Regions from separate parts of the Homo sapiens genome. Here all the other regions are linked to region 1. The links are contacts of gene promoters, found by promoter capture Hi-C in human tissues and cell types (Jung and others, 2019). All regions are on one chromosome and are shown on one strand. The core of a region is centred on a gene start or on the middle of the fragment in contact, and the rest is flanking DNA. Distances in the headings are between cores, read along the strand shown.

Region 1 (4,276 bases), core at 1,607-4,106:
CCCAGTGCTTTGAGAGGCAGAGGTGGGCGGATCACCTGAGGTCAGGATGTCAAGACCAGCCTGGCCAACATGGCGAAACCCTGTCTCTACTAAAAACACAAAAATTAGCTGGGCTTGGTGGCACATGGTGGTAATCCCAGCTACGTGGAGGCTGCAGTGAGCCGAGATGTGCAACTGCACTCCAGCCTGGATGACACAGTAAGACCCTATCTCAAAAAAAAAAAAAAAAATCTCTGATCATGAATGTGATCTAATGGAGTAGCTTCTGTGTTTCTTTGACAGTCATCCATGGTCAGGGATAGCCCTACCCAGTGGACACATGCATGCATTCATTTGCAACCAGAACAAACACTGTCTCTGTATTATGTGTGATAGACTACAATTTTTTAAAAATTCTATTTTCTTTTCATCTAATAAGTATTTGTTTCATAACCATTAAGAGTCATGACCCGCTGTTTGAAAAACACTGTTCTTTTTTTTTTTTTTGGAAACAGGGTCTCACTCTGTCCCCCAGGCTGGAGCACAGTGGTGCAATCATAGCTTACTGAAGCCTCAACTTCCCAGGCCCAGAGGATCCCTCCCACTTCAGCTTCCAGAGTGGCTAGGACTACAGGCGTGTGCCGCTATGCTCGACAATTTTTAATTTTTTGTAGAGACAGGGTCTCTCTATGTTACTCGCGCTGGTCTTGAACTCCTGCCCTGAAGCAGTTTTCCTAGCTTGGCCTCCCAAAGTACTGGGGTTATAGGCATGAACCACTTCACCCAGCTGAAAAACACCAGTCTAATGGAACAATATAAGGGAACAGAATTTGTAAACAGTCATGTTCTCTGCTAATCTGTGATTAGCAGTAATACCAGTATCCCTCCCTCTCCAAATCTATTCAGTTGGTGAGTTCAGCTAAGAGGTCTAGAGTGCTGATAGTAAGAATTAACATGCCATCTGAATCGCTTTTCTTCTGGAGTTCTGGTCTTTGAGCAAGAGCTGAGGTGGTCTGGGACTTGCATACTGATAAGGGAAGAAAGCCAGCTCGAAGATACCTTGAACCTTCTGGTGAGTCTGGGGTTAGAAGTGAAGTAGGGAGTGAAACAGAGGATGGCAAATACTGGGGGAGAGGCTCAGTGCTCCATTAGCCCATGTGACAGATGGTTTGAGAAGATTTGCCAGGTCAATGTGGGGTCAATTCTAAAAGTGTCCTAAGTCTAGGCCAAGAGGAACAAAATGCAGCTGGGTCTCTGACCTCACACGCCGAAGCCCAAGGACACGTTAGGGCCAAAATGTGACTCTCTAAGGTCACCTGTAAAACTGGACAATCTGGTAAAGTCAGTGAAGGTTAAGATCATGAATCCAGCCAGGCGTGGTGGCTCACGCCTGTAATTCCAGTACTTTGGGAGGCCAAGGAAGGAGACCAAAGAGAAAGGATCACTTGAGCCTAGGAGTTCGAGACCAGCCTGGGCAACCTAGCAACCTCCGTCTCTACAAAAAATACAAAAATTAACCAGGTATGGTGGCCGGTGCCTGCAGTCTCAGCTACTCAGGAGGCTGAGGTGGGAGAACTGCTTGAGCCTGGGAAGCAGAGGTTGCAGGGAGTCATGATGGTGCCACCGTACTCTAGCCTGAGCAACACAGCGAGTGAGACTCTGTCTCAAAATGAATAAATAAATAAAAGAAAAAGAAAAATAGTAAAACTCAGGACAGGTGGGCCCACAAGGAAAGAGTTCTGTGGCTTTTACTCCCGTTTTTTGGTTGGTCCAAAAAATTCCCAGCAGTCCAGGGATCTCTGTGGAGTTCTCAGTGAGTGTTCTGTGTAGGGTGCAGGAGCCACAAGTGACTGCAGGGGGAAAGGGGGGTTCTGGTGCTGGCATTCTGCAGCAGTGGGATTGTCCTCTGTCATAAAGAAAGAGAAGGCCGAGCGCGGTGGCTCATACCTGTAATCCCAGCACTTTGGGAGGCCGAGGCAGGCGGATTATTTGAGGTCAGGAGTTCGAGACCAGCCTGGCCAACATGGCGAAACCCCGTCTCTACTAAAAATACAATTAGTCGGGCCTGGTGGCACATGCCTGTAATCACAGCTACTCAGGAGGCTGAGGCAGGACAATCGCTTGAACCCGGGAGGCGGAGGTTTCAGTGAGCCGAGATCGGGCCACTGCACTCCAGCCTGGGCAACAAGAGCGAAACTCGTCTCCAATAAATAAATAAAATCCAAAACGCTGGGACTTGAAGTGCCCTCCTTTCAATCTTGACCCAGGTAAAACTCAGGACAAATAAAAAGAAGTAGAAGCAGTAAACTTAGGACATACAGCATGTAAAGGTTCTGAACGCAGGAGTAAATGACTTCAAATAGCTTTTGTGGCCTTTCGCCAAGGACCGGGCCCTCCCTGGCAAGCTGGGGCCGGGTCTGACCTTCCAGGTTGGCGTCAGCAAGGACCACCCTGCCCTTCAGTGGCCGGACACGACCTTGGGCTTTCGTGCAGTAGCCTGGCTGCAGGCCAGGTCGAGTCCGCCACCCCGGGGACTTGCACCGCCCTTCAGAAACCGAAACCTGCTCGGCCCCAGGAGGCGGACCGGGAGAAGGGGGGGGGGTGTGTGTGTCTCGGGACGGGGGCGTGGTCTAGAGGCGGGGGCAGGGGAGGAGCCTCGGGTGGACGCGCGTGCGCAGGCCGGAGCCTCGGGAGGAGGCCGGGTACCCGGGGTGCGGCGCGCGCGGGAGGAAGGCGGGGCCTCGGGCGAGGGGCGGGGCCTCGGGCCGGGGGCAGGGGGCGGGCGCAGGCGCAGGCGCGGGCGGGCGGGGCGCGGGGCGCGGGGCGCCGGGGGCGGGGCTCCGAGCCGGGCTGAGGCGAGCGGGGGCGCGGGTGGCGCGGCGGGACGCGAGCGGCGAGCCGGAGCGCGGAGCCCGGCTCCCGCACCATGGAGGAGGACGACAGCTACGGTCAGTGCGCCCCGGCGGCGGACGCTTCCCCCTCGCTGTCCCCCAGTCCCCTCCGGGCCCGGCCGTCCGGCAGCGCTTGCGGCGGCTGGCGTTTCCCGGGGACACTGGTGCGGGACGCGGAGCCCGGGGCGACCGGCGGGCGAGCGGTGCGCGGGGCCCTCGCGGGGCGGGGGTCGCAGGGGGTTTTGAGGGATGAGGGTCGCCGGGGCCGGGGTCGCTGGCGGCGCTGAGGGATGTGGGTGGCTGGGGCGGGGGTCACAGGCCGGGCTCGCGGTCTCGCGGGGCCAGGGGTCGCCGCGAGCTCTGAGGAATGAGGGTCGTTGGGGTCGCGGGGCAGGATCTCAGGGGCTCTGAGGGATGAGAGTCGTTGGGGTCGCTGGGGTCCCCGGGGCAGGGGTCGCAGTCCGGGTCCCGGGGGGCCGAGGGGTGGAGGTCGCTGGCCCTGCCGCCCCTCTGCGGGGCTCGGGGCGGACGCGCGGATGGCCGGGCCCGCGTTCCCCGCAGTTTCCGGCCGCTCTCGGCGTCAGCGAGTTGTGCCCGGTCCACGTCTTTGTTCAGAAATGAGAACGGGGAGCGGCGCCGCCGGCGAGGCGCGGGCTCCGGGACGGCCCTGCCCGCGGGAGTCTGGGCCCGGTAGCCGCCGGTCCGGTGCGTCGCCGCCTGCCGAGACGCGGGTGTGGAGCCCGAGGGGCACCGCGGTGGGGACGCCGCTCCTCCCCTGACTGGGGACTTGGCAAGCGGAGCCGCTGTCCCGCTCCCTTCGCTCCCGCGCGTTGAGGCTGCTGGCCCAGGCCAGGGGTGCCTCCCTCCAAGAGTTTGAAATTGCAAGGGTTGCAAAAGGTTGTTTGACATGCTGTAGTTAATTTATTAAGTTTGTTCATGAGGAATTAAAAGGAAGAATGGCAAATAGAACAAGTGGTGAACTTTTGTGGTTTGGTAGCAAAGTACAAATAAAGCAGAACTCTGTGGCCAAATGGAACCCAATTCTAGTTTAATAACTAATGGGACATTTTTCTTTTTTTTTTTTTTTTAAGAGACGAGATCTCGCTCTGTCACCCAGGCTGGAGCACAGTGGCGTGATCGTAGCTCACGTCAGCCTCTTGAGTGGCTGGAACCATACGCACGCCACCATGCCCGGCTAATTTTTTATTTTATTTTATTTTATTATTTTATTTTATTTTATTTTATTTTTGAAACGGAGTCTCACTCTGTCGCCCAGGCTGTAGTGCAGTGGCGCCATCTCGGCTCACTGCAACCTCGGCCTCCTGGGTGAGCTGAGCGATTCTCCTGCCTCAGGCTCCTGAGTAGCTGGGACTACAGGCGCGTGCCACCACGCCTGTCTAATTGTT
Region 2 (4,756 bases), core at 911-3,410, 330 kb after region 1:
CAGACCTGGTCCAGCCTGCAGATGGAGCTGGAAGAGGGGGAGCCAGGGGCCCCCATCAGTCCTACACCCATTCTCCCCAGGAGAGGGTATGAGCTGCTCCCTCCTCCCTGCTCTTCCCCTGGTGCCTCCAGGCACTCACAACCCAATCAAAACAAACTGGATGGCCTGGCATGGTGGCTCATGCCTGTCATCTCAGCACTATGGGGGGCCGAGGCGGGTGGATCACCTGAGGTCAGGAGTTCAAGACCAGCCTGACCAACATGGTGAAACCCTGTCTGTACTAAAAATAAAAAAAAATTAGCCAGGTGTGGTGGTGTGCGCCTTGGGAGGCTGAGGCAGGAGAATCGCTTGAACACTGCAACCTCCCTCACTGCAGAGGGTGCAGTGAGCCAAGATCACGCCACTGCACTCCAGCCTGGGCGACAGAGCAAGACTCTGTCTCAAAGAAACAAAACAAACTGGAGGCCACCACAGGTGGCAGGGAGTGGTGGCGGGGAGTGGTGAAGGGCTCCATCTCTGCACGCCTCCATGGCTCTCGGTGGCGGATCCCCAGGCCTTCAACGTGGTGTTTGAGAAAGCCATCCAGAGGACCACCCCTGCCAACGAGGTGAAGCAGCGGGTGATCAACCTGACGGACGAGATCACCTACTCCGTCTACATGTACACGGCCCGGGGACTCTTCGAGAGGGACAAACTCATTTTCCTGGCACAAGTTACGTTTCAGGTAATGTCTAGCCTCACTGTTCCTAGTGTGGTCCGTGGACCAGCGGTGTCACTGACCCCTGGGAGCTTTGTGGAAAGGCAGATTGTTGGGCCCCCACCCAAACCTGGTGATTTCAAACCCGCATTTTAGCAATATACCCAGGTGATTATAAAGTCTGAGATGCCTGACGTGGAACAGGCCTGGGGCTCTCCTAGTTGATATTTGGGAAGCTGGCACAGTATTCCAATGGGAGCTAGTGAAGGGGTGGTGTTTTAAGGAGAATTTCACAAGGAAATTCATTTTACATGTAAGTTGTGCTGAGTAAATAGTCCTGCATTAGTGCTTAGCCCACTGTGGGGTGACTGATGTTTCTTAAGAAATAAGTGTATGAATAAACAAATATTCCTCCTGTTTATACAGCCCTGCTAAAATATTTAAAGATCTGCATTCTCTGAAATTGATTAAACAGCCTGTCTTAATTTGTTTTGTGCGGCTATAACAGAATACCCAAGGCTGAGTAATCTATAAACAATAGAAATTTATTTCTCATGGTCCTGGGGTCTGGGAAGTTCCATATGAAAGTGCTGGCATCTGGCAAGGGCCTTCTTGCTGTGTCATCCCATGGTGGAAGGCTAGAGGGCGAGAGAGAGCACAAAACGGGCCAAACTCCTTGTGTAACAAACCCACTCCCTTGATCATGACATTAAGCCATTCACTCTGCTGTCACGGCCCAACTGCCTCTCAGACCCCACCTCCCAACACTGTTGCACTGAGGATTCAGTTTCCAACATATGCTTTTTGGGGAACACATTCAAACCATAGTACAGCCCCTCTGCAATTTCCTTTACACTGTGCCATAAGTATGGTTGGAAACACTAGTTTTTGTTGTTGTTGCTACTGCTGCTATTTTGAGACAATCTCACTCTGTCACCCAGGCTAGAGTGCAGTGGTGCAATCATAGTTCACTGTAGCCTTGAATTCCTGGACTCAAGCAATCCTCCCACTTCAGCCGCCTCAGTAGCTGGGACTACAGGCATGTGCCACCATGCTAGGCTAATTCTTCAGTTTTTTAATTTTTTATTTATTTATTTATTTTTTAGTAGAGACAAAGTCTCGCTCTGTTGCCCAGGCCGGTCTTGAACTCCTGGGCTCAAGTGATCCTTCTGCCTCAACCTCCCTGTAGCTGGGAATACAAGTGTACACTGCTGTGCCTAGCTAATTTTTTTTTTTTTCTGTTCTGGTTTTTTTGTTTGTTTGTTTTTTAGACGGAGTTTTCCTCTTGTTGCCCGGGCTGGGGTGCAATGGTGCAATCTCAGCCCACCACAACCTCCACCTCCCGGGTTCAAGCAGTTCCCCTACCTCAGTCTTCCGAGTAGCTGGGATTACAGGCATGCACCACCATGCCTGGCTAATTTTTGTATTTTTAGTTGAGACGGGGTTTCTCCATGTTGGTCAGGCTGGTCTCGAACTCCCGATCTTAGGTGATCCACTAGCCTCGGCCTCCCAAAGTGCTGGGATTACAGGCATGAGCCACCGCACCCGGCCCTAATTTTTTAAAATGTTTTTAAAGAAACAGGGTCTTGCTACATTGCCCAGGCTGGGCAACACTAATTGTATAAACAGGTTGGGCATCAGTGTAAGCCTGGCTTTCAATTCAAACTCAAACTTTGAACCAATGGGGTCCATATTATGAAGGTTCCTTTTACATGTGAATCTCTGAATCATAGGTTCACTATGAGATTTTCTCCTGGCTGAGAGGTCATCAGGATAAGAGTTCCTCAGTGCTCCCCCTAATTTTCCAGGGTAGAAAGCATTCTCTTTGGTCCCAAAGAACGTTTTGTTTGACCAAAAGAAAGAGTCCAGCTCAGGAAGAAACTCTCTATGGGATCTGAAAAACAGACCGTTTGGGCACTTGACTGAGGAGATGGCAGTGGCCATTGCCCCTGCTCCCAGCCACCTGCTGCCCATCTGAGACAGAGGGTGCCAGGTTAGCTGCCCAATACACCACTTCAAAATGACCCAGACCCTGCCCACAGGAGGTCCAGAGGGCCGGCATGCACAAGCGACAAGATGGCATGGAATATGACCCAGGCTTCCACTTCTGGGCACACACCCACAAGACCTGTAAACAGGTGTCCAGCATCTGTCCACATTCCTGTACATCAGCATTCACAACAGCATTAATCGCAGCAGCCAAAAGCCAGATGAGGCCGGGCACTGAGGCTCATGCCTAGTATCCCAACACTTTGGGAGGTCAAAGCAAGAGGATCACTTGAGGCGGTTTGAGACTAGCCCAGTCAATATAGCAAGACCCCATCTCCACAAAAAAATAGCTAGGTGAGGTGATGTACACCTGTAGTCCCAGTTACTTGGGAGGCTGAGATAGGCGGGTCACTTGAGCCCAAGAGTTCAAGGCTGCAGTGAGCCATGATCACAGCACTACACTCCAGCCGGGGCAACAGAGCAACACCCTGTCTCTCAAAGACAACAAGGCCGGGCACAGTGGCTCTCACCTGTAATCCTGGTACGTTGGGAGGCCAAGGTGGGCAGATCACTTGAGGCCAGTAGTTCAAGACCAGCCTGGCCAACACGGTGAAACCCTGTCTCTACAAAAAATGCAAAAATTAGCCGGGCATGGTGGCACACACCTGTAATTCCAGCTACTTGGGAGGCTGAGGCAGGAGGATTGCTTGAACCCAGGAGGTGGAAGTTGCAGTGAGCCGAGATTGCGCTACTGCGCTCCAGCCTGGGTGACAGAGTGAGACTCTGTCTCAAAAAAATAAATAATAATAAATAATAAAATAAATTTAAAAAATCAGCAAAGCTAATCAATTCACAACAGCCAAAACGACCCGCTGTCCATCAGCAGGTGAATGGAGAATGCCAGCGTGGTTATATTCAAGAATGGAGTATTACTCGGCCTTACAGAGGAAGGAGGTTCTGACACATCTACAATATGGATGAACCTCAGAAGCATCACGCTAAGTGAAAGATGCCAGATGCAAACGGGGCATGTCGTGTGCTTCCATTTATACAAAGCATCCACAACAGGGGCATCCCTAGGCAGAAGGCAGATGAGCAGCTCTCAGAGGCAAGGGGCGATGGGGAGTGGCTGCTTCAGGGGCGAGGGGGTAACAAAAAAGTCCTGGAACTAGAGAGTGCTGATGGTTGCACGATGCTGCGAATCATGTGAAATGCCACTGAATTGCACACTAAAATATGGTTACAATTGTCAATTTTTTTTTTTTTTTTTTTTTTTTTGAGACAGAGTCTCACTCTGTTGCCCAGGCTAGAGCGCAGTGGCGTAATCTCGGCTTACTGTAACCTCTGCCTCCCAGGTTCAAGTGATTCTCCTGCCTCAGCATCCCGAGTAGCTAGGACTACAGGCATGCACCACCACGCCCGGCTAATTTTTTTGTATTTTTAGTAGAAACAGGGTTTCACCATGTTGGCCAGGCTGGTCTCGAACTCCTGAGCTCAAGTGATCCACCCCCTCCTCGGCCTCCCAAAGTGCTGGGATTACAGGCGTGAGTCACTGTGCCCGGCCAAAATGGTCAATTTTATGGTATGTGTATTTCACAACTTAAAAAGCGAGACGAGGTGAAGACAAAACTTTACCCCAAACCAAAGGGGCAGGACAGGGCGCCCCCTGCAGGCCGGGAGTGTGAACTCCTCTTCGAGTCCAGCGCGCATCTTCAGGGCTGCTGACGTTTTACTGGCTGCGTTAAGTGTGTACACCTCGATGTTCCCCCAGGTCCTGTCCATGAAGAAGGAGCTGAACCCAGTGGAGCTGGATTTCCTCCTGCGGTTCCCTTTTAAGGCCGGAGTGGTCTCACCAGTGGACTTCCTCCAGCATCAAGGCTGGGGCGGGATCAAGGTTCGTCTTTAGACGTTGAACACGTTGTGCTTTCTCCCCGCCGTGGAGCCCCCTCCAGCTGATGCTGCGGATGTTTCCAAGGCCAGAATACCAGGCTCTGTGGCCCATAAATTCAGTAAAGCAAGGAGGCCCCGCACATAGGGATGGAGACCAAGATGGGCTGGCTGCCAGCTCAC
Region 3 (4,396 bases), core at 738-3,237, 470 kb after region 1:
CTCTGTTTCTATTTTTTAATTCATCCTCTTTAAATCTCAACTTCTATGGATACATAATATATAAACCCAGTAATAAAGTGCCTATGGTTTATAAATAAATAAATATACACGCCCGGGGAGAAAAGTGCCCCCACCCCCACTGCAGTGGTCGCACCTTGCCTAGTAGGTGCTCAATAAACATTTCTGTGACTGGGGCAGCCAGGAGGCAGCTCTTCCTGTGTCAGGAGACACACCCACCCCCAGCACCTCCTCCAGCCGAGCCCACCTGCGCCCTGGGCAGGGCGTGGCTGCGGGCTTGGCTCCCCGCCTCCGCCTGGCCCTGGCGTGGCGCCACCTTCCACCGGGTGGCCGCGAGAATACCGGGAAGGGAGGCGGGTTCGCCTCGCAGCTGCTGAAAGCCCGCCCCACGGCTTCCCCGGGCTGCCCCCAGCTCCCTCCCTCCTCCCGCTCACCCTGGGGAGAGCGGCGCTGGGAGGCCCTGGGCGCCCTCAGGACGGGACGGGTCCCCGGGGGTGGCACGCGCCCAGGGTGGCCCAGCAGGGCGCGGCAGCCTGGGGCGCCCGAGCACCTGGCTCGGCCCTGCCCTCGGCCAAGGGCCGCCCCGGGCTCCAGCCGCCGAGCCTTGCGCCGCTCGGGAGCACGTTTCCAGTAAGCGCGAGCAAGTGGAGCCGGGCCGAGTTCCCGACAGCCCGGCCCGGGCACGGGCTCGCAGAGAAGCCGGGGCCGCGCCGCAGCGGCTGCATCCGCACCACGATCAATGCGCACCCGCGCCGCTCCGGGCTCCCTTCCTGCCCGTGGAGCGGCGGGGGTCCGAGGTCGTCCGAGCCCGCTGGGCTGCAGGTCCCCGCGCCCCCGCCCCATCATGCCTGGGTCCTCGGTCCCCTCATTCCTGTCTCTGCTGGACAAGCCTCCAACAGTCAGTCCTGCCCAAGAGCTGCGAGGAGCATTAACCTGGCGCGGTGCTTAGGGCCCTGCCTGGAGACCCCCGCATTGGCCACTGCTCTTACTATCAGATACCAAATCCTAGACTTTGGAAGCTGAACCAGCCAACCCCGTCTCTTAACTACAACTATTTTCTACGCTCACCCTTCCCCCAGCTTTTTTTTTTTTTTTTTTTTTTTTTGGCAGAGTCTTGCTATGTCACCCAGGTTGGAGTGCAGTGGTGCCATCTCGGCTCACTGCAACCTCCACCTCCCGGGTTCAAGTGATTCTTCCACCTCAGCCTCCCAAGTAGCTGGGACTACAGGCGCGCGCCAACACACCTAGCTAATTTTTGTATTTTTTGTAGAGATGAGGGTTCACCATGTTGGCCAGGCTGGTCTCGAACTCCTGACCTCAAATGATCCGCCCGCCTTGGCCTCCCAAAGTGCTGGGATTACAGGCATGAGCCACCATGCCCAGCCAGTGGCCTGTGTTTGTTACTGCCTGAGACTCCTCTCAAGGGCAGGGGCTGTGTCACGGGTATCTCCTATTGCAAGCTTGGTTCACGACCTGGCCTGCAGCGGGACGGCTGTATTATATACAGATGGGGTTACCCCAGGTAGAACCACGACCATATGAGGTGCTGGCCAAGGGGGAGGGATTATGGCTAGATGGTGGAAGGAGGAAGTTATCAGTAGAAACTATGGCAGAGTGAGGGACCACCATACACCTTTCCCCTTTATCCTGTTCATTTTTGTTTATGTTAACTAATTTCCTTTTTTCCCTCTTTTTTTTTCCTTACTATTCTACATAAAGTATAGGACCCAGGGTCACCACATAATGTTGTCCAGGCTGCACACTGCACAATTCCAAGAGGGCACTATTGGAAAAATCTATATTGCAAATGATACTTATGCCTCTGGGGGCCCTGGGGATGGGTGACTTTAATTAATCTCATGGGATTTCTGCCCAGAAGAGGAGTGAGCACCACCCACAGCTGGAGAGTGACTGATCAGAACATCAGGTTTTTCATTCTGGGGAGAGGGTGTGTGTGTGTGTGTGTGTGTGTGTGTGTGTTTGGGGCACAGTTGTATAGCATTAGGTGAAAGCTCTTGCTGCTTTTTATGCCATGGTGTGGAAGATCAGCAAGATGCTGGCTGGTGGAATCAGCTCCTTTAATCTTTTTTTTAGATGGTTGGTGTCTTGGTCCATTCATGCTGCTTTAGCAAAATACCTAGACTGGGTAATTTTCAAAGAACAGAAATGTATTTCTCACAGTTCTGGAGGCTGAGAAGTCCAAGATCATGGTGCTGGCAGGTTTGGTATTGGTGAGGGCTGCTCTCTGCTTCCAAGATGGTGACTTGGTGCTGCACCCTCCGGAGAGAATGAACACTGCATCCTTACAGGGCAGAAGGGATGGAAGGGCAAAAAATGAGCTGAATTGAACACTCTACAAAGCCTTTCTTTCTTTCTTTCTTTCTTTCTCTCTCTCTCTCTCTCTTTCTTTCTTTCGACAGAGCCTCGCCCTGTGTCACCCAGGCTGGAGCGCAGTGGCGCCATCTCAGCTCACTGCAACCTCTGCCTCTCAGGTTCAAGTGATTCTCCTGCCTCAGCCTTCCGAGTAGCTGAGATTGCAGGCCTGGGCCACCACACCCAGCTAACTTTTTGTATTTTTAATAGAGACGGGTCTCGCCATGTTGACCAGGCTGGTCTTGAACTCCTGACCTCAGGTGATCTGCCAGCCTTAGCCTCCCAAAGTGCTGGGATTATAGGCGTGAGCCACCACGTCCAGCCTTCAAAGCCTCTTTTATAAAGGTCTTAATCCCATTCACGAGGGAGAAGCTCTCCTGACCTAATCACCTCCCAAAGAACCCACCTCTTAACACTATTGCATGGAGTTATGATGGGGGTTACATTCAGACCACAGCAGTGGGAAAGCTAGAAACTCTTTCCCAGGTTCTCTCTAGATGTGACTTTCTCTCTGCAAATCAATGCGTTCTTGTGGGATTGGAAAGTGGAAGGAAGACAGACTCTTGTCTTTCTGCAGCTGCATGGGTATGAAAGTGGGTTCCAGCAGAAGCACTGGTTGGCAGTGGCTCCATTTCCCATTCTGCCATCTCAGTGCCTGATTTGTGGGTGTGGGAGTGGGGAGGATCGGGGACTGTGGTGGAGGCGTGGCCTTACCCCAGAAAGCTTTGACCTTCCATCTCTCCCAGTGATTGTTTTTCTCAAGCCCATGAATCTTTTCCAATGATTTTATGAATTCCTGATTCCTTATGTTAAAATCCCTTTTGGCTTGAACCACCTGAGGTGGATTCGCCTTGCACAGAACCCTGACAGGTACACAGTGCAAAATGCAGCAATGGGGCACATAGGTGCTGGCGCATCTGTCCAAAGGAACACTGGAAGGGAGAGAGCGAGAGCCCTTTCAAGGCTGATAGAGGACAGTCTGACAGTCTAATACATATTAAGGGATAAAAATCAAGGTGCGGAAGAGTGTGTATGGCATGCTATGATTTGTATGGGGGTAGAAAGAAGAAAGTTTGGCGGGGCGTGGTGGCTTATGCCTGTAATCCCCGCACTTTGGGAGGCTGAGGTGGGCGGATCACCTGAGGTCAGTAGCTTGAGACCAGCCTGGCCAACATAGTGAAACCCCATCTCTACTAAAAAAATATAAAAATTAGCCAGGTGTGGTGGTATGCACCTATAATCCTACCTACTCACTCAGGAGGCTGAGGCAGGAGAATCACTTGAACCCAGAAGGTGGAAGTTGCAGTGAGCCGAGATTGTACCACTGCACTCTAGCCTGGGCGACAGAGCGAGACTCCATCTCAAAAAAAAAAAAAAAAAGAAAGAAAGAAAGAAGAAAGTGTATATGTATATGCAAGCATTTGCTTTCATGTCCATAAAATATGCTAGGAAACGTACTTTTTTTTTTTTTTTTTTGAGATGGAGTCTTGTGTCACCCAGGCTGGAGTGCAGTGTGGCACGATCTCGGCTCACTGCAACCTCTGTCTCTGGGTTTAAGCAATTCTCCTACCTCAGCCTCCCGAGTAGCTGGGATGACAGGTGCCCACCACCACGCCCAGCTAATTTTTGCATTTTTTTTTTTTTTTTTAGTAGAGATGGGGTTTCACTACGTTGGCCAGGCTGACCTCAGGTGATCCGCCCACCTCGGCCTCTCACCCTGGCCTCCTAAAGTGCTGGGATTACAGGCGTAAGCCACTGTGTCCGGCCTGGAAACATACATTTTAAAAAACGATTTGTGAGCCAAGTGCAGTGGCTCATGTTTATAATTCCAGCAATTCTTGAGGCTGAGGCAGGAGGATGTCTTGAGGCCAGAACGACCTGGGCACCATAGTGAGACCCTCATCTGTACAAAAAATAAGAAAATTAGCTGGGTGTGCTGGTGTGTGCCCGTGGTCCCAGCTACTTCAGAGGCTGAGGCAAGAGGATTGCTTGAGCCCAGGAGGTG
Region 4 (4,309 bases), core at 1-2,500, 310 kb after region 1:
TGCCTTTCAGGGTAGGGTCAGGGAGTAAAGAAAAACTTCACTCCCTTTTCCAAAATGAAGCCAGCGAGTACAGGGAATCCGAGCATCACCAATAGTCCTTATCCAAAGGGTCTTTATCTTAGAAAGCAGAGGCCAGAAAACCTTCCAGCCAGCGTGCGTGCCCGTGTGACTGAGGTGAAGAGTGTGAAACCTTCCAGCCCGTGTGACTGAGGTGAAGGGTCTGAAACCTTCCAGCCAGTGTGCATGTCCATGTGACTGAGGTGAAGCGTGTGAAACCTTCCAGCCCATGTGACTGAGGTGAAGGGTCTGAAACCTTTCGGCCCGTGTGACTGAGGTGAAGCGTGTGAAACCTCCCGGCCCATGTGACTGAGGTGAAGGGTGTGAAATCTTCCGGCCCGCATGACTGAGGTGAAGAGAGTGAAACCTTCCGGCCAGTGTGTGTGCCCGGGTGACTGAGGTGAAGAGTGTGAAACCCTCCAGCCCGCGTGACTGAGGTAAAGGGTGTGAAATCTGGCCAGTGTGACTGAGGTGAAGGGTGTGAAACCTTCCAGCCAGTGTGCGTGTCCGTGTGACTGAGGTGAAGAGTGTGTCTGTCAACTACTCGATGGACACAAGTCCACAGAATCAACCCAGATCACAGAGGCAGAGAGGTTGGATCCCTGCCCTTGGTCACTGAGTGTTCCAAATTGTTACCTATTCTCTCCAGACTACAGAATTCAGAGCCATGACTGGGTGTCTAACTGCATGCCTGAGATGCTGAATGGCTGCTTTTGGAATGAATGAAATAAACATTAGACTAAACATAAGGTCTCCCATGCCCAACACACACTGCTGAGGGTTTTTATTGATTTCTTGTTCCTGAAAATCTGCTCTCCCAGGCAACTGCGTGCCATTAGTTCAGAAGGAATCATCGTGCTTGAGATTAGACCTGAAATCGATTGGGCCGTCCTACACGGCCATGCCTTCTCTGTGTGCTGGGGCCGCTGTTGTGGGGCCAGGACGATGCCAGACCCAAGGGGGAACCTAAGGGGACCCTCCCGCAGTACGTGGCCCTCAGACAGTCGCTGGGCTGGTGGCTTTAGCAGGCAGACCTGGAGCCAGTGATGCTGGGAGCAGTGGGAGGTGTCTGCAGGCAGAGACCCTGGAGGGGCAGTGCAGGCTGTGCCAGGGACGGCCAACCTCTGGGAGAGCCTCCAGTTTCTGGCTGGCTGTTCTCTGCCTTCCCAGCAGATTCTACTCCATGTATAAAGGGGCCGGCCTGCTCTTTTTTGAACTCCTCAGATGGGCACTCCTGAACACAGCCCTGTCCTCTGGACCCATGAGCGGTAGTGTGTCATGGGTTCTCAGCGCATCTGATGGAGTTAGTTCACATTGGTATCTGCGGCCACTCAAGTGTCATTTGAACCTGGAGCCGTATGGTTTTACTGAGCTTTCTCCATTGAAGTCTCTAGTCTATTAACTAAATCACGTTGGTTTACGTTCATGACGGCATCGTTTCCTTGCTCTGCGTCCCTGCGGGGATTTTCTCCCTGATCCTTCCTGTTGGGGCTGATTGTGGGTGCTCAGCCTCAGCCTCAGCCTCAGCGGTACTATTTTATTCATCAGCTGCTGTGGCTCTGTGATCTGGGCTGTGGAATTTCACTGTCCCTGCACCCATCACAAATCAGCTTTGCTATCACTGTCATTTCTTTTTTTTTTTTTTTTTTTTTTGAGACAGAGTCTCACTCTGTCGCCCAGGCTGGAGTGCAGTGGCGCGATCTCAGCTCACTGCAAGCTCCGCTTCCCGGGTTCACACCATTCTCCTGCCTCAGCCTCCTGAGTAGCTGGGACTACACGCGCCCGCCACCACGCCCGTCTAATTTTTTGTATTTTTAGTAGAGACGGGGTTTCACCGTGTTAGCCTGGATGGTCTCAATCTCCTGACCTCGTGATCTGCCCGCCTCAGCCTCCCAGAGTGCTGGGATTACAGGCGTGAGCCACTGCGCCCGGCCATCACTGTCATTTCTTAAGCCGCTTCTGTGGATTCAGAACTAAGGGCAGAGGTAAACAGGGCTATAAGTTCCTGAATTGTATTGGGGGAGCTAGACTCCTGAGCCATTCGACATGATTATCGTTCTAATGGTGCTGCCATAGTAATAGGCTCACCCCTATGGGGGTAACATATATGTTTGTGATTATGTAATATTATAAAGTAGGTCCCGGAAGCTGTGGCACCTGCTGGAGGCTAGGGGTGCACAGGAAAGGGGTGGAGGGTGGACCCTGGAGGACAGTGTGCCGTGTGAAAAGCCCTGGGCTTGGTCCCAAGAAAACGAGACTACATCAAGATGTCTGATCAGGGGATAGAGCGGGCAGGATGTGGTAGTGTTCTAGGACACAGGAAGGATAGTTTGAAAGCACAGAAACTGCTGAAGGGTGACCTGGGTGGAGCTGGGGCACAAGCTCTGTGACCCCACAAAGGCTGAAAGTGGGCAGGTGCGACGAGAAGGGAGAACGGAGGGGGAGGGGAAACCAGGGCCAGCGAGGGCTGTGCCTGCCGAGACAGCGTGCGTGACCTCGGGGACTCGGCTGGGGTCCAGGATCCGAAACCTTCAGGTGCTACCCCAGCTCCCCTCCCCACACCCCACACACAGCCCCCGGGGCCAGGCGGTGGGGAGTTTTTATTTCTGTGAAACCTTCACCCCAGCCTGAGTCAGCAGCCAGAGCTGGGCTGCCCCATGAAGAAAGCCTGTCAGCAGAATGAGGGGCCGTGGTCTCAGCGGCTCAGGTCCCCGCCTCCCCGCCAGCTTCCTGCAAATGAGAGGGAAGGGGTGAGAAGCAGCCATCGGGTGGGGTGGGGGCTTGGCCTCATGTTATTCTCAGGGAGGAGGCCTTGCTGCGTGTCTCGCACCCGCCACTCCCAAATCCTAACCCTAATCCTCGCACCCCCATTCCCTAACCCTAACCCTCGCACCCCCACTCCCTAACCCTAACCCTCGCACCCCTACTCCCTAACCCTAACCCTCGCACCCCTACTCCATAACCCTAATGTCTCACACACCCCCACTCCCAAATCTCGGCTCCGTGTCCTGCCTGTCTACTGCCAGTGGCATTGGCTATGGCAAGGAAAGGCACTGCTGCTGATGTTTTGGCCAAAGAAAGGGAAGCCTGTGCCCCTTATTAATGGCTGGTCCCTAGACGGGCCTAGATACAGGTGACGATTGCCGTCCTTGGCTGACAGTGATGATAGGGACGCAGGCAGATCCAGCTTCAGTAGCACCATGGGGCTCTCAACCAAGATAGGAGGGAGGGTGGGGGAGAACTGCCCTGGGGCCAGGCCCGGAGGAGATGAGATACCTGGGGATGAGGCGGCCATCGCACAGCGGGACACATGGGGCTGGGAAGTGCAGGGATAGGATGCGGGTAGAGATGTGGGGGCCAGCCTCAGCAGCATAAGAGGACGGGAGTGGAGGGGACTGTGCCAGAGAGTGAGCGGGGAAGGTGAGGTGGGGACAGCCCAGCGGTCACAGTGGGCAGGGTAAGGGCCACTCCATATGGGACAGTGTGGCTGTGAAAGCCAGACGGGCCGGGAGCGGTGGCTCAAGCCTGTAATCCTAGCACTTTGAGAGGCCAAGGCAAGGAGGATCCCTTGAGCCCAGGAGGTCGAGGCTGCAATAAGCTATGATCATGCCACTGCTCTCCAGCCTGGGCGACAGAGTGAGGCCCTATCTCTAAAAAAGTAAAGTCAGAAAAAGGAACAAAAAAGGAAAAGATTTCTGGTATGGTCAGTCTCCACCCAATGTCCTTGCTACACTGTGAAATGAGAAGAGTGATTCGTCTTTGACTCAAGGTCATTGCTGGCTCTCACACTACGCTCCTTACCTCGAGGCAGGGTCCAAGGACATAGCCTTGGCTCAAGTCCCACCTGCGGCCCACCTGCTGCCCACCTGCTTTTCCAGGCTCAGAGCTTCCCCTTGCTTTTTCTTAGCTTGTCAAGAGATAGGAGATTTGAGGCTGGCTTCTGACCCCAGTCAGCTCCCAAAGAGGAGGCCTGGTGAGGTTTCTCTGAACAGAGAGATTTCAGGGAGTCGGACTTGCTTCCGAAGGATGGAGCAGCCACTGGGGTGCCTATATGGACACTTTTAAAGCCTCTTCAATAAGTACAGAAGCCCATAGGTCTTGTTTTTTAAATTAAATATTATAGATAAGCAAATCGCCAAAACGCTGGAAATACACATCACTACTTGGATGAAACTGGCAGGCATTTCTGAACATATATATACATGGAAATGGCATATTCAAAAATAACGAGCTATTCCTACTGCTCTGTAAA
Region 5 (4,443 bases), core at 1,113-3,612, 440 kb after region 1:
ACAGAGAATGTCCCCCAGATCCTAAACCCACTCTCTATGACCCCAGAGAGTCTTCCCCAGGCAGTTTACACCCCTTAGCTTCCTTTTGTTTTTGAGGCAGGGTCTCCTTCTGTCACCCAGGCTGGAGTGCAGTGGCATGATCATAGCTCATTGCAGCCCCTGCCCCCTAGGCTCAATGGATCCTCCTGCCGCAACCTCCTGAATAGCTGGGACTACAGGCATGTGCCACCACACCTGGCTAATTTTTCTATTTTTTTGTAGAGACGGTGGGGGTGGGGGGGGGGTCTCCCTATGTTGCTTACACTGGTCTCGAACTCCTGGGCTCAAGCCATCCTCCCGCCTTAGCCTCCTAAAGTGCTGTGATTACAGGCATGAGCCACTGTGCCCAGTCATCCTTCCTTTTTAAAGAAAGTTGACTGAGCGAGGTGGCTGTTGCCTGTAATTTCAGCACTTTGGGAGGCAGAGGTGGGAGGATCACATGAAGCCATGAGTTTGAGACCAGTCTGGCCAACATGGTGAAACCCCATCTCTACTAAAAATACAAAAATTAGCCAGGCATGGTGGGGTCCACCTGTAGTCCCAGCTACTCAGGAGGCTGAGGCATGAGAATTGCTTGAACCCAGGAGGCAGAGGTTGCAGTAAGCTGAGATCGTGCCACTGCACTCCAGCCTGGGTGACAGAGTGAGACTCCATCTCAAAAAAAAAAAAAAAAAAAGTTATCACACTAATACATTGTATTACATGTGTACTAAATATATAGCTATCCTCAAGGAAAATTAATAAAATATTGAACTCATCCCCATGCCCAGTCCAACTAACTCAGTTCACTGCCCAGAAAAATAAATATTATCCACAAGTGGCTACTAATTCTTTAATTAACTAGATAGCTGAATTGAATAGTTTTATTTATAACTTGGATTATTGCTGTAGAATACGGGTTAAAAGGTTTGGCAAGAGCTACCCAAACTTGGGATGGAAATCTGCTGAGAGGAGCCTAGTCTGCTGAGAGAGAGAGAAAGAAAGTACCATTCAAATATGAGCCCAGGGAGAGGCAGGAAACCACTTTCTCCCCAGGACTCTGTACTACAATCTTTCAGGGCGTGCTGGACAGGTGAGGGGAAACCTAAACGCGCCAATGCCCTCCTTCATGAATAAGTAACAGCCGCCCAGTGCTTTGACTCATTCGTCAATAGAGAGTTCACTTCCTGACAAAGAAGCCAGCGCCTTCACACTCACATGTAAGTGACGGAGTAATCAATTGACGATTAATTACAGAGGAAGTTACCAGGAATATAGAATTGCTCTATCAAAATTCAGCGGCTAAGGCAGTATTTTTCAGGTGTGCTTCTGTTATGGAGATCAGACCTGCAGCTGAAATAAACCAGAGTGGTGGTGTTTCCTGAAAGAATATGTCTGCTCAATCTTGGGGGGCTTCCAGTTGGGGGGGGGAGCCTGGGAAGACTGGGTCAGATCCTGGTGTCATCATCCTCCGACTAGGCTGTCATTGTGTCATCTGTAAAACGAGGATGCTGACCTCTACAGAGGGCTCTGGTGAGGTCCCTGGGTTCCTGGCCTGACACATAGTGGGGGCTCAACTGGAGATTCTTCCTTCTCCTGTCACCTGCTCACCAGCACCCCCCTCTGACTGCCCCCAAACCCACTCCTCAATTCTGGAGTTGAAAGGAACCTTACAAGGCTGGTTTCTTTTACAGATGGGTACTTTGACAGACTTGGGTAATTGGGTAAAAGTCAGAGATCTCAATTTCTTTTTTAAGAGACAGGGTCAGCTGGACATGGTGGCTCATGCTTGTAATCCCAGGAATTTGGGAGGCTGAGGCAGGTGGATCACCTGTTCAAGACCAGCCTGGCCAACATGGTGAAACCCCATCTCTACTAAAATTACAAAAATTAGCCAGGCGTGGTGGCTTGCATCTGTAGTCCCAGCCACTGGGGAGATCTGAGGCAGGAGAATTGCTTGAACCCGGGAGGCGGAAGTTGCAGTGAGCCAAGATTGAGCCACTGCACTCCAGCCTGGGCGACAGAGCAAGACTCCATCTCAAGCAAAAAAGAGACAGGGTCTCACTTTGTCACCCAGGCTGGAGTGCAATGGTGTGATCATAGCTCACTGCAGTCTCAACCTCCTGAGTTCAAGTGATCCCCCAACCTCAGCCTCTCAAGTAGCTAGAACCACAGGTGTGCACTACCACGCCTGGCTGATTTTAATTTTTTTGCAGAGACGGGGGTCTCACTATGTTGCCCAGGCTGGTCTTGAACTCCTGGCCTTAAGTGATCCTCCGGCTTCGGCCTTCTGAAGTGCTGGGATTACAGGCATGAGCCACTGCACCCACCCAGTGATCTCATTTCTGAACAGGGAAGGGGCAGAGGGCCCACACAGGGAGTAGGGTTGGGGTAGAGTGAGAAGGGAAAGGAGAAGGGGAAGGTGACTGGGAATTCTCACCCATTCTCACTTCTGCTTTGTGGGTTAGAAACACTGAGCTGCCTCATCCTCCTGTCTCTGAACTTCCTTCACAGCCCATTGGGCCATTTGCATATGTCTCGTTGAAATTCCGGATCACGGCGTCACTGCCTCCTCCCCATGGCCCCCAGAGGGTGACCGGAGCATCACTAGGAGCCAAAGAATGGGGATGAGCAGTGCGGGGTAGTGTTGACCGCCCCAACTTTCCCATGGTGACTCACTCTTATTCAATAGACAGACCATTTTCCTAGAATGTTGCAACAGGGGTATTAGGGTTTTTCCAGAGCTTTCCACTCTCGATTACCCAACCCTGAGCCCCTCGCGTGGAACTCGAGGTGATCCCCGCTAGTGAGGGCTGGACATTTGCCTCTGGCCTTGGCATCCCCTTCATCTTGAACTTTCTCAAGGGGCAGAGCCAGCCTCCCGAGATGGGTTCTGTGCACCCCGGTTGTGCCCGCAGTAGGCTCCTGGACTGTTTTTCTTTCTTAATACATATTTGTTTAATGGATGGGATGACTGGAAATTACTTATCCCTGACGAAGAAACAGGAAGGCAAACAGTTTTACATTTCTTTTTACAAAAACTGTCTTGAGTTTTACCCTGTTCGTCTTTCTTCACTTTAGATTGTGAAGTTTCCAACTCTAACTCCTAAAAATCTTAGTGGAGAGATTCTAAACCCTTCGAGGGTGAGATCAAATCTCCTTCCTCCTTTCTCTCCCCAATCCCTGGTTCATAGTTATGTACTAGGTGCTTAATAGATCTTATTGTATTGGATTATTTTAAAAGTCATTATTTTATACAAAAGATTAGCTGTGCATAGTGGTGGGCGCCTGTAATCCCAGCTATTTGGGAGGCTGAAGCAGGAGAATCACTTGAACCCAAGAGGAGGAGGTTGCAGTGAGCCTGAGATCATGCCATTACGCTCCAGCCTGAGCAACAGAGTGAGACTCCATCTCAAAAAGAAAAAAAAAAAAGTTATTATTTTAAAAGTCAGCCGCTTATAGAGTCAGGCGTGTTAGGTATCATCAATGAAGCCTGGGCTGAGTTCAGGAATCCCGAACCTGTTTGGGTGCATTTGAGCTGATTGCCTTGTCAAAAAGTTCAGTAATGGCTCTGGCAAACTATGGCTTTGCGAGAGTTGGTGGAGGGGATTATAATGGTCTTTATTCCAAGGGAAAGTCTACTGCTTGAGCAGGGCACACCGGCTGGTGCCTGTAGTTCCAGGTACTCAGGAGGCCGAGGCAGGAGGATCACTTGAGCCCAGGACTTCAAGGCTGCAGTGAGTGAGCTACGATCAAGTCAATCCACTGTAGCCTGGGTGACAGAGCCAGACCCTGTCTCTCTGTCTTTCTCTCTCTTTTTTTGGGGGGGTGGGGCGGGATGGGATCTGGCTCTGTAGCCCAGGCTGGAGTGCAGTGGCAGGATCTCGGCTCACTACAACCTCCATCTCCCGATGGCGGTCTGGCCAGATGGGGTCTGGCTTTGTCACCCAGGCTGGAGTGCAGTGGCTTCATCTCTACTCACTGCAACCTCCATCAAGTGGTTCTCCTGCCTCAGCCTCCCTAGTAGCTGGGATTACAGGCGTGAGCCACCATGCCCGACCTAAGACCCTGTGTCTTAAATTTTTTTTTAAGTCTATTGTTTGAACCCCAGGAAAGGAATTTCATTGTGGGGTCACTCTTCATACAGGATGATTCCCTGTGAGTTTATAATAGCTCAGGAAGAGATACTGGAAATTATCACATAGGTACCCTATACTTTAGGGGAAATTTCTCCAAAAAGAAATGCTGGCCAAAAAAAGAAAGCTGTAGGTTCTAAAAAGGAAAATGGTAAGGTAGACCAAAAAAAATCCACAATTCAGACAATTCAATCACAAAAGATTTCTATGAGAAAGAGGCCAGGCATGGTGGCTCATGCCTGTAATCCCAGCACTTTGGGAGGCCCAGGCGGGTGGATCACCTGAGGTC
Region 6 (4,681 bases), core at 533-3,032, 490 kb after region 1:
CCCAGACTGGTCTTGAACTCCTGGGCTCAGGTGATTCGCCTGCCTAGGCCTCCTAAAGTGTTGGGATTACAGGCGTGAGCCATAGCGCCCGGCCAAAAAGAATAGACTTTTAAATGATACTTTATTTAAATTATTTATGGATTACTTAATCTTTGTAGAAAGCTAGAAAATACGGAGAAGCATTAAAAAGAAAATTAAGGGCCGGGCGCGGTGGCTCACGCCTGTAATCCCAGCACTTTGGGAGGCCAAGGCGGGCTGATCACGAGGTCAGGAGATCGAGACCATCCTGGCTAACACAGTGAAACCCCATCTCTCCTAAAAATACAAAAAATTAGCCAGGCGTGGTGGCGGGCGCCTGTAGTCCCAGCTACTTGGGAGGCTGAGGCAGGAGAATGGCGTGAACCCGGGAGGCGGAGGTTGCAGTGAGCCGAGATCGTGCCACTGCACTCCAGCCTGGGCCAAAAAAAAAAAAAAAAAAAAGAAGTGACAGGTAGCTATAACCTGTATGGTAGAGCTCAGTGGCCCTGGCAGGCTGAGCCCCCAGGAAGAAAGAAGAGAGGGACAGAGGCTTGGCGGGGGAAAGGACAGTTTCACTTTCCACAGTACCTATTCTGTAATGTTTCTATTTTTAAAATAATGAGAAAGTGTTTCTCTTCTAAATGGAAAACAAACAAAACATGATGATCATTTTTTTGTTTTTTAAAAAGAATTCTATAAAGAACACCAAAGCTTAGCATTTGTTGTGGTCTTTTTAAAGCGGTAACTGCTGGGGTGGCCCCAGGTACAAAGTCCAGGAGGACTCCTGCTCCACTGGGGACCTCTCCCCACTGCTTGTGGGGGTGCTGTGTTTGGGTGGGGAGGACAGAGCCAGAGTAGGTCCCCATCAGGAGTGGCAGGCTGAGGAGAGGCTGAGTGAGGGCCAGGGGCTTAGTCTGCTCAGGCTGCTATGACAAAATACTTTCTTATTTATTTATTTAGAGATGGTGTTTCACTCTTGTCTCCCGGGCTGGAGTGCAATGGCGTGATCTCGGCTTACTGCAACTTCTGCCTCCCAGGTGCAAGCGATGCTCCTGCCTCAGCCTCCTGAGTAGCTAGGATTACATGCGTGTGCCACCAGGCCCAGCTAATTTTTATATTTTTAGTAGAGACGGGGTTTCACCATGTTGGCCAGAATGGTCTCAATCTCTTGACCTGGTGATCCACCCGCCTTGGCCTCCCAAAGTGCTAGGATTACAGGCGTGAGGCAGCGCGCCCGGACTGACAAAATACTTTAGACTGGGTAATTTTCTAACGACAGAAATTCATTGCTCACAGTGCTGGAGGCTGCGAAGTCCACCATCAAAGCACTGGCCGATCTGGTGTCTGGCGAGGACCCATTCCTTACAAACGGCACCTTCTTGCTGTGTCCTCATGTGGCGGAAGGGGAAACATGCTCCCTCAAGCCTCTTTTATAAGGGCATGAATCCCATTTGTGAGGGTGAAGCCCTCATGACTTAACCAGCCCCCTAAGGCCCTACCTCTTAGTACTATCCCATTAGGCATTAAGTTCCAACACATGAATCTGCGGGACACCAGCATTCAGACCACAGCAGTCACAAGCCATGAAGAAGGCGGCAAGACTCAGCCCCAGGGCCGAGGCCTGTGCTCTCCTGTGAACTCCAGCTCCTGGCATGGAACCTGGAGTGTCCAGGTGCTTTATTGTTTGCTGAATGAATAAACAAGTGTATGGATTTGGGGCAGTGTGATTGAGACATCAAGACTCGACTCAAGGCCAGGCGTGGTGGCTCACGCCTGTAATCCCAGCACTTTGGGAGGCCGAGGCAGGTGGATTGCTTGAGATCAAGAGTTCGAGACCTGCCTGGACAACATGGTGAAACCCAAAAATTAGCCAGACGTGGTGGCAGGTGCCTGTAATCTCAGCTATGCGAAGAGACTGAGGCAGGAGAATCGCTTGAAGTCGGGAGGCAGAGGTTGCGGTGAGGCGAGATTGTGCCCCTGCACTCCAGCCTGGGCAACAGAGTGAGACTGTCTCAAAAAAAGAGGCTCCACCCAAGAAGCCAGAGGGACCCCCAGAGGGAGGTTTCCATGCCAGCAGAGGTGGGGTGGCAGAGGGCAGTGCTTGGGTGGTGCAGCTTGCTGGGTGCTAAGAAGACCTCCCTGCCTGGCTCCAGGCCCGGCTCAGAGCCCACCTTCTCCTCCAGGTGGTAGCTCCTCTTCACCTCTCCCTTTTCTGTGTCACTTGAATATTTTAATGCCTGGGGGAGGTTTTGTGCTTTCCAAGGAAGACTTAGTGACTTGAATTTGAATTGAGTCAAGGCTGGCCACGGTGGCTCATACCTGTAATCCCAGCACTTTGGGAGGCCGAGGTGGGAGGATTGCTGGAGCCCAGGAGTTTGAGACCAGCCTGGACAAAATAGTAAGACCCTATCGACAAAAAAAAGAATTGAAAATTATCTGGGTGTGGTGGTGCGTGCCTGTAGTCCCAGCTACTTGGGAGGCTGAGGTGGGAGGATTGCTTGAGCCCAGGAGTTTGAGATTAGCCTGGACAATTTAGTGAGACCTCTCACTAAGTCATCTCGCTAAAAATTTTTTTTAAAAAATTAGTCGGGCATGGTGGCATGCACCTGTAGTCTAAGCACTTTGAGAGACTGAGGTAGGAGGATTGCTTGAGCCTGGGAGGTTGAGGCTGCAGTGAGCCATGATTACAGCACTGCACTCCAGCCTGGGCAACAGAGTCTAGTCTCAAAAAAAAAAAGAGTCAATATATCAAGTGTAAAAGTTGTCAATATTAAAACCTACCTTTACTTAGACCTTGCATTCCAAAATCCAACAAGTTTTAGCATTCTCTTTATAAATCTAATTTTAATATGAAAACACAATCACTTTCACTTGGGCTATGCTCAATTAACTCATACATTTAACACACTGATTACTTCTTATGCATTTAACCACACTGACCTTTTTTTCTTTTTTTTTGAGACGGAGTCTTGCTATGTTGCCCAGGCTGGAGTGCAGTGGCGTGATCTCGGCTCACTGCAACCTCCGCCTCCTGGGTTCACGCCATTCTCTTGCCTCAGCCTCCCGAGTAGCTGGGACTACAGGTGCCCACCACCACGCCGGCTAATTTTTTGTATTTTTGGTTGAGACGGGGTTTACACTGTGTTAGCCAGGATGGTCTCGATCTCCTGACCTCGTGATCCGCCCGCCTCGGCCTCCCAAAGTGCTGGGATTACAGGTGTGAGCCACCGCGCCCGGCCTCACACTGACCTTCTTAAATAACACAAGAGCCTCGGGAGTACAGATCTAAAATCACACCTTCGATGCTGCTGGAGTCTCCGAAGCACCTGGCCAGGCCGCCTACAAATCAGCATGTGAATTCTTCCAGAACGCGTAGGCAGCTCCTGTAAATTGAGGAAATCAGACTCGTAAAGGCTGTGACTCAGGTTCTCCTCATCATCTCGAACACCATCAAAACAACAATAGAGACACAGAGCAGCATTCACTTCGCGGATGGTTGCAACATAGGAAAAGCAACCACTCACCAGGGCTTTCTTGGATTTCTTGCAAATTACCGTACTCTCTCCGCCCAGGGGTCACCAGCCAGGGCTGCTAAGCACCTAAGATCGCGGGGAGGGTGTTGGCCTGGGATTCCCGGCCAGGATGCAGGACTAGCCTTAGTTCTGGGATATTCTCCCGACTTTAAGGAGGGAGGCCTCTTCCTGTGGTCAGTGGCCATGGCCTGTGAGCCTGGACTTGCGGCCAGGGTAGGATCAACACACAATTCCCCCTTCACCACCATGTCACATGCCCCCAGGCATTGCAGCCGCCAGGGTCTGGGGTCCTCACTCTCGCTTTCCCAGCTGCATCCCACCAGCAACCACAATTGGCCTTGGCGTGTACTCTTCATCCAGACTGCAGCTGCCTCCCTACAGTACTCTGGGGAGTCTGCCCTGCTCTTCATGGTCACACTCTCCACCTGCCTCACTCACCACCGTTCACGGTCATTTATTGGCCCTCCAGGCATGTCCTGGGGACCTCTCAAGCCCTCCCTTGAAACGCTTAACCCATCGGGTTAGGGCCAAGCAGGAGGGGCTTGTGTGGATTTGAAGACCCTCTGGACCAGGGATTCCAGCGATAAGCATAAAGGAACAGGCCTGAAGGCCAGGGTTTGGAGTGCTGTTTTCCTGGGCAGTGATAGCCCAGAATACCAGGGGTCAGGACTTGGGGCACACTGAGTTTGAGCATGACTGACCCTCGGAGGCACTGCCTCATCAGAGACTCACTCAACTAGCCAGGCCCTCCTGCACGGGGAGGGGCCCTGTCCTCTGCAGACTCTCCCTCATGGTCACAAGACACCCTTGGGCAGGCCCAGGCCATGTGCCTCTAGGTCCCAATGCAACAGAAAGGGAACTACTTGGCCGGGTGCAGTGGCTCACGCCCGTAATCACAGCACATTGGCAGGCCTAGGTGGGTGGATCAGCGGAGGTCAGGGGTTCAAGACCAGCCTGGCCAACATGGTGAAACCCCATCTCTACTAAAAATACAAAAATTAGCTGGGTGTAGGCCGGGCACGGTGGCTCACGCCTGTAATCCCAGCACTTTGGGAGGCCGAGGAGGGCAGATCACGAGCTCAGGAGATCGAGACCATCCTGGCCAACATGGTGAAACCCCATCTCTACTA

The links. Contacts are between HindIII fragments. The study calls those that stand out against the background at their distance.
Region 2: a contact is called between a fragment that was not itself captured here and the fragment with the promoter of CYTH1 in region 1, in 3 of the 25 tissues and cell types used here (mesendoderm cells, spleen and thymus).
Region 3: a contact is called between a fragment that was not itself captured here and the fragment with the promoter of CYTH1 in region 1, in 2 of the 25 tissues and cell types used here (IMR-90 fibroblasts and hippocampus).
Region 4: a fragment that was not itself captured here is called in contact with the fragment with the promoter of CYTH1 in region 1 in 2 of the 25 tissues and cell types used here (dorsolateral prefrontal cortex and mesenchymal stem cells).
Region 5: a contact is called between a fragment that was not itself captured here and the fragment with the promoter of CYTH1 in region 1, in 1 of the 25 tissues and cell types used here (hippocampus).
Region 6: a contact is called between a fragment that was not itself captured here and the fragment with the promoter of CYTH1 in region 1, in 2 of the 25 tissues and cell types used here (dorsolateral prefrontal cortex and thymus).

What each region holds. Positions count from the first base shown.
Region 1 is chr17:78,780,853-78,785,128 of GRCh38, reverse strand. CYTH1 (cytohesin 1) reads left to right here and starts at 2,856. Exons shown (of 14, transcript NM_004762.6): 1 at 2,856-2,927. The coding sequence starts at 2,906. RefSeq lists a cis regulatory region at 1-71 and silencers at 2,597-2,756, 2,797-3,076, 3,337-3,736. The HindIII fragment of the contact is 23,878 bases long and covers 1-4,276 here.
Region 2 is chr17:78,445,382-78,450,137 of GRCh38, reverse strand. It overlaps DNAH17 (dynein axonemal heavy chain 17), which reads left to right. Exons shown (of 81, transcript NM_173628.4): 69 at 554-724; 70 at 4,458-4,580. Among named protein-coding and RNA genes, the nearest start is that of DNAH17-AS1, 37 kb to the left of the region's middle. RefSeq lists a silencer at 1-31. The HindIII fragment of the contact is 9,864 bases long and covers 1-4,756 here.
Region 3 is chr17:78,310,331-78,314,726 of GRCh38, reverse strand. No RefSeq gene overlaps it. Among named protein-coding and RNA genes, the nearest start is that of LINC01993, 34 kb to the right of the region's middle. RefSeq lists a silencer at 260-729. The HindIII fragment of the contact is 4,231 bases long and covers 1-4,102 here.
Region 4 is chr17:78,470,945-78,475,253 of GRCh38, reverse strand. The region is part of intron 54 of DNAH17 (dynein axonemal heavy chain 17); the gene reads left to right. Among named protein-coding and RNA genes, the nearest start is that of DNAH17-AS1, 12 kb to the left of the region's middle. RefSeq lists enhancers at 262-311, 2,454-2,543. The HindIII fragment of the contact is 9,669 bases long and covers 1-4,309 here.
Region 5 is chr17:78,335,761-78,340,203 of GRCh38, reverse strand. All of the region lies in intron 1 of LOC105371912 (a long non-coding RNA gene), which reads right to left. Among named protein-coding and RNA genes, the nearest start is that of SOCS3, 22 kb to the left of the region's middle. RefSeq lists a silencer at 1,112-1,221. The HindIII fragment of the contact is 9,275 bases long and covers 1-4,443 here.
Region 6 is chr17:78,293,755-78,298,435 of GRCh38, reverse strand. No RefSeq gene overlaps it. Among named protein-coding and RNA genes, the nearest start is that of LINC01993, 18 kb to the right of the region's middle. The HindIII fragment of the contact is 9,751 bases long and covers 1-4,681 here.